Regions from separate parts of the Homo sapiens genome. Here region 1 is linked to region 2. Evidence: promoter capture Hi-C in human tissues and cell types (Jung and others, 2019). All regions are on one chromosome and are shown on one strand. Each heading gives the region's core, a stretch centred on a gene start or on the middle of the fragment in contact. The rest is flanking DNA. Distances are from core to core; before and after follow the strand shown. Region 1 overlaps DDX60 (DExD/H-box helicase 60). Region 2 holds the start of PALLD (palladin, cytoskeletal associated protein).

Region 1 (3,017 bases), core at 293-2,792, 250 kb after region 2:
CCCTGGTATGTGTTGTTCCCCTCCCTGGGTCCATGTGTTCTCATAGTTCACCTCCCACTTATAAGTGAGAACATGTGGTGTTTTGTTTTCTGTTTCTGCATTTGTTTTCTGAGGATGATGGCTTCCAGCTCCATCCATGTCCCAACAAAGCACATGATCTCATTCCTTTTTATAGCTGCATAGTATTCCATGGTGTATATGTACCACACTTTCTTTATCCAGTCTATTGTTAATGGGCATTTGGAGTGATTCCATGTTTTGCTATTGTGAATAGTGTTGCAGTGAACATACACATGCATATATCTTTATAATGGAATGATTTATATTTCTTTAGGCATATACCCAGCAATGGAATTGCTGGGTCAAGTGGTATTTCTACCTCTAGTTCTTTGAGGAATCTCCACACTCTCTTCCACAATGCGGTTGGACTGATTTACACTCCCAGCAACAGTGTAAAAGCATTCCTGTTTCTCTGCAACCTCACCAGCATCTGTTGTTTCTTGACTTTTTAATAATTGCCATTCTGATTAGTGCGAGATGGTATCTCATTGTGGTTTTGATTTGAATTTCTCTAATGAGTGGTGATGTTGAGTTTTTTTCATATGTTGGCTGCATGTATGTCTTTTTTTGAGAAGTGTCCTTTCATGTCCTTTGCCCACTATTTAATGGGTTGTTTGTTTTTTTCTTATAAATTTGTTTAAGTTCCTTGTAGACTCTGGATATTAGACATTTGTTGGATGGATAATTTTCTCCCATTCTGTAGGTTGTTTGTTTTCTCTGATGATCATTTCTTTTGCTGTGCAGAAGCTCTTTAGTTTAATTAGATCCCATTTATCAGTGTTTGCTTTTGTTGCAATTGCTTTGGGCATTTTCATCATTGTATTATTCCATGTTCATGCTGCTGATAAAGACATACCCAAGACTGGGCAATTTACAAAAGAAAGAGGTTTAATGGACTTACAGTTCCACATGGTTGGGGAGGCCTCACAATCATGGCAGAAGGCAAGGAGGAGCAAGTCATGTTTTACAATGGATGGCAGCAGGCAAAGAGAGAGAGAGCTTGTGCAAGGGAACTCCTCTTTTTAAAAGCATCAGATCTCATAATACTTATTCGTTATCATGAGAACAGCATGGGAAAGACCCGCCCCCATGTTTCAATTACCTCACACCAGTTTCCTCTCACAACCCATGGGAATTGTGGGAGTTACAATTCAAGATGGGATTTGGGTGGGGACACAGCCAAATCATATAATTCCACTCCTGGTCCCTCCCAAATCTCATATCCTCACATTTCAAAACCAATCATGCCTTTCTAACAGTCTCCCAGAGTCTTAACTCATTTCAGCATTAACTCAAAACTCCACAGTCCAAAGTCTCATCTGAGACAAGGCAAGTCCCTTTTACCTATGAGCTAGTAAAATCAAAAGCAAGTTAGTTACTTCCTAGATATAGTGGGGGTACAGGCATTGGGTACATACAGCCATTCCAAATGGGAGAAATTTGCCAAATCAAAGGCACCACAGGCCCCATGCAAGTCCAAAATCCAGTGGGAAAGTCAAATCTTAAAGCTCAAAAATGATATCCTTTGACTCCATGTCTCACATCCAGGTCACACTGATGCAAGAGGTGGGCTCCCATGGCCTTGGGCAGCTTCACTTCAATGGCTTTGCAGGGTATAGTGCCCCTCCTGGCTGCCTTCATAGGCTGGCATTGAGTGTCTGTGGCTTTTCCGGGCACACAGCGCAAGCTGTCAGTGGATGTGTCATTCTGGGGTCTGGAGGGTGGGGGTCCTCTTCTCACAGCTCCAATAGGCAGTGCCCCAGGAGGGACTCTGTGCAGGTTCTCCAACCCCATATTTTCCCTTTGCACTGCCCTAGCAGAGGTTCTCCATGAGGGCCCCATCTCTGCAGCAAACTTCTGCCTGGACATCCGGGAAGTTTCATACATCCTCTGAAATTGAGGCAGAGGTTCCCATACCTCAGTTCTTGACTTCTGTGCACTGTCATGCTCAACACCACGTGTAAGCTGCCAAGGCTTGGGGCTTCCACCCTCTGAAACAATAGCCTGAGCTGTACCTTGTCCCCTTTTAGTCATAGCGGGAGCAGCTGGGATGCAAGGCACCAGGTTCCTAGACTTTACACAGCAGACGAACCCTGGGCCTGGCCCAGGAAACCAGTTTTTTTTCCTAAATCTCTGGGCCTGTGATGAAAGGGGCTGCCACAAAGGTCTCTGACATGCCCTGGAGACATCCCATTGTCTTGGTGATTAATGTTTGGCTCCCTATTACCTATGCAAATTTATGCAGCCAGCTTGAATTTCTCCTCAGAAAATGGGATTTTCATTTCTATCCCATTGTCAGCCTGCAAATTTTCTGAACTTTTATGCTCTGCTTCCCTTATAAAACGGAATGCCTTTAACAGCACCCATGGCACCTCTTGAATGCTTTGCTGCTTAGAAATTTCTTCTGCAAGATACCCTAAATCATCTCTCTCAAGTTCGAAGTTCCATAAATCTCTCAGGCAGAGGCAAAATGCTGCCCGTCTTTTTGCTAAAACATAACGAAAGTCACCTTTGCTCCAGTTCCCAACAAGTTCCTCATCTCCATCTGAGACCACCTCAGCCTGAATTTCATTGTCCATATCATTATCAGCATTTTGGTCAAAGCCATTCAAGAAGTCTTTAGGGAGTTCCAAACTTTCCCACATGTTCCTGTCTGCTTCTGAGCCCTCCAAACTGTTCCAATTTCTGCCTAGTACCCAATTCCAAAGTCACTTCCACATTTTCAGGTATCTTTTCAGCAGCACCCCACTCTACTGGTACCAACTTACTGTATTAGTCTGTTTTCATGCTGCTGATAAAGACATACCCAAGAGTGGGAAATTTACAAAAGAAAGAGTTTTAATGGACTTACAGTTCCACATGGCTGAGGAGGTCTCATAATCATGGCAGAATGCAAGGAGGAGCAAGTCATGTCTTACAATGGATGGCAGCAGGCAAAGAGAGAACAAGCTTGTGCA
Region 2 (2,847 bases), core at 279-2,778:
CTCCACACACATATTGTTTAAGAAGTGGAGCTCTTGTCTGGGCCTTGCAGATTCCACTTGGTATCTCTTAAAGAACTTGTCATATTTATTTTTAAACCTGAATAATGATTGCCCTCTACATTTTTAAAAAATGAGGTAAGGAGGTCAAAGTGATTGTACTTGTCCAGTGCAATCCAGATCCTCATTCTATTGTGAAATATGCTATAAGGCCAGTTTTAATATTCAGCTCTAGCAATAACAGAGAAACCCAGAGGAAGAGCTGACACAGAACCCCTGGGATACAGACCCTAATCCATACCAGATTCTAGGATGCCAGAGGACTAATTTATATTCTAGGAATGTGTAATCATGTATTTACAGGGCAGTTAGTGGCCAGATAAACCTCATCGGCCTTTTCTGCTGTTAGCAATAACTTGTCAAAGAGACTTTGATTTTAAAAATCTGAAAAAAAAATCTGAATAATTGAGGTGAGTATTCAAGTTCTTTCTGTGAGAAAAAACATTGGAAGGCACATTTATCATGAAATGAGGATTTAATTTCTGCATATATGTGATTGAATAGATTTGTAATAGTTTTATATTGCCAAGAAATGGCTTTATATGTCACCACATTATTCATACTAGAAGGCAATTAGTATTTTTAGCAAATGTTAATAAGTAATATGAGCCTGAAATCATTTTATGTCAACCTCCTATATTGGATTCAAGACAATTTCATGTGCAACTTAAAACAACATGATAAAAATTATTCTGTGATGTTTAAACTTGACTGGACTCGAGATTGCACTGTGGTTTCCCTTAGTAAGCGTTATCTTATTAAAAATATGTATGTAAATTTTATGCATGAATATAATTTAAAATACCTGCTGTTACTATCCCAACTCATTTAATTATGTCCAGTGAGTTACTTTTAGAATCTTTTGAAAGTGTAATTAACAATTTATAATGTTACTGAAATCTAAGGTCTATCACTTTAAGCCATCATCACTTATCTAGCTTAAATATGGGTGAGGGTCTAGAAAGCTGCGTTTTCCTTTTCTGTGAAACATAACACATACACGATCTTGACAAAAGCTGGCTCCATAAATACATTTAATCCTTTTGGAATTGATAGCACCATCTTAGCATGCTTAAGCTTATAACAGAAAGTGTAATTCTCTGACAGCAAAGGCAGAGATGAAGTGGGCAGGCAAATCTTACGTATTATCTGTTTTTGGCAAAACCGTAACATTCTCATTACGTTTCCTCTCCAAGCAAAAGAATAATTAAGGTATCTTGTAAATAGTATCATATCTTCAGAAAAACTTTTGTATTTTTAGTTTTTTTTTTTTTAAGTCCTTAAAATGTTGCCCTACTAGTTAGTATATTAAGATACACCTTACAGACCTTTTCAATGCTTGGTCAGTTTGAAGACTCCAGAGAGGTGATGAATTTCAGATGAGCATTTCTTCTTTTCTGGGAGAATGGAGGTTGTGGCCTTGCCTATTCATTAGAGACTGCCTGGTCCGTGGTCACTTTGAGGCAACTGTGGCCTCAGACTCTCATCTGTCCTCTTACTCCACTCAGCTATATTTGGTAACTGAGCTCATGTTTCAGCAGACTGCCACGATCAGGAATTCCAGCAGCGGGCTGGGAAGCACCCCCAGGACCGAGGGCTGGGTTCTTAGAAATAAAGCCACTTAACATAGAAGGAACTATATTTATGGATCTGATAAACGTAGGATTTAAACACATTCTTCTATACTTTGGACTTGTAGCTGGAAATCACCACCTGGACCTTTAACATGTTCTTAATCAATTTAAAGTACAGTATGTGACTCCAAGTAGAAAAAGTGATAATCCAAATGGAAGCTCTTCTTACTCTGATCTTCTGTTCTGTGCATTTAAATTTTGGTCATGTGCTAGATTACCCTAAAATAGTAAATTCAGTAACTGAAAATTTAGCCACCTGTCAAATTGAGTGGAAAGTCCCATTGTTCTCTTATTTCATATTGCTAATTAAAAATTGATATATGACTATGGTATGTATTAAAGGCCTTGTCTATAATAGTATTAAATAAGTATGAACACACAGGGACTGGATCTTATCCACATTGCAACATTGAGTTCTTAGCTCAATGCCTAGGACATCATGAGCATCTCTTAAATATTTGTCAAAGAAATAAATGAATGTTGAATGAATAATATTCAGGAAAAGTATCAACCCTCTTACAGTTGCAAAAAATGTTTCACAATCATTTAATATTTTGATCTTTCAAATGACAAATAGATATAGCAAGAGTTTAATATTTTGATCTTTTAAATAACAAACATAGATAGCAAGAAGAGAAAGCTTTTCTGTTTAAAGGTCAGGTAGCAGAATCAAATATAAGGGGGGCAAAAAGAGCAACACAAAAGCTCCCAGTTAACTTGGAAATGGGGTGCTGAGTCTTCCTTTGTCTGGGTAAGACCATCACATTTGATTCAGTTTAATATCTAAATATTTTTTCTTTTCTGATGTTAGAAAATTTGTGAAGGTCTGCTATTGTATTTTCTTTATAGGCCAAACTGGTCCTTTAGAAATGGTCCTTTCTGTGAGTGGATACTTCTGTGGGTCATTTCATCTATTATATTAATTAAGAAGTGATTTTAAAATTTATACTTACGGCTGGGCGTGGTGGCTTATGCCTGTAATTGCAGTACTTTGGGAGGCCGAGGTGGGTGGATCATGAGGTCAGGAGATTGAGACCATCCTGGCTAACACAGTGAAACCCCCTCTCTACTAAAAATACAAAAAATTAGCTGGGCGTGGTGGCGGGTGCCTGTAGTCCCAGCCACTTGGGAGGCTGAGGCAGGAGAATGGTGTGAA

The links. The method cuts DNA at HindIII sites, captures the fragments that hold promoters and counts their contacts. A contact is called where the count stands out against the background at its distance.
Region 1: a contact is called between a fragment that was not itself captured here and the fragment with the promoter of PALLD in region 2, in 1 of the 25 tissues and cell types used here (dorsolateral prefrontal cortex).

Annotation. Positions count from the first base shown.
Region 1 is chr4:168,241,080-168,244,096 of GRCh38, reverse strand. All of the region lies in intron 30 of DDX60 (DExD/H-box helicase 60), which reads left to right. Among named protein-coding and RNA genes, the nearest start is that of DDX60, 76 kb to the left of the region's middle. The HindIII fragment of the contact is 7,735 bases long and covers 1-3,017 here.
Region 2 is chr4:168,495,733-168,498,579 of GRCh38, reverse strand. It overlaps PALLD (palladin, cytoskeletal associated protein), which reads right to left and starts at 1,528. Exons shown (of 22, transcript NM_001166108.2): 1 at 1,386-1,528. The region is part of intron 1 of LOC107986198 (a long non-coding RNA gene); the gene reads left to right. The HindIII fragment of the contact is 2,790 bases long and covers 137-2,847 here.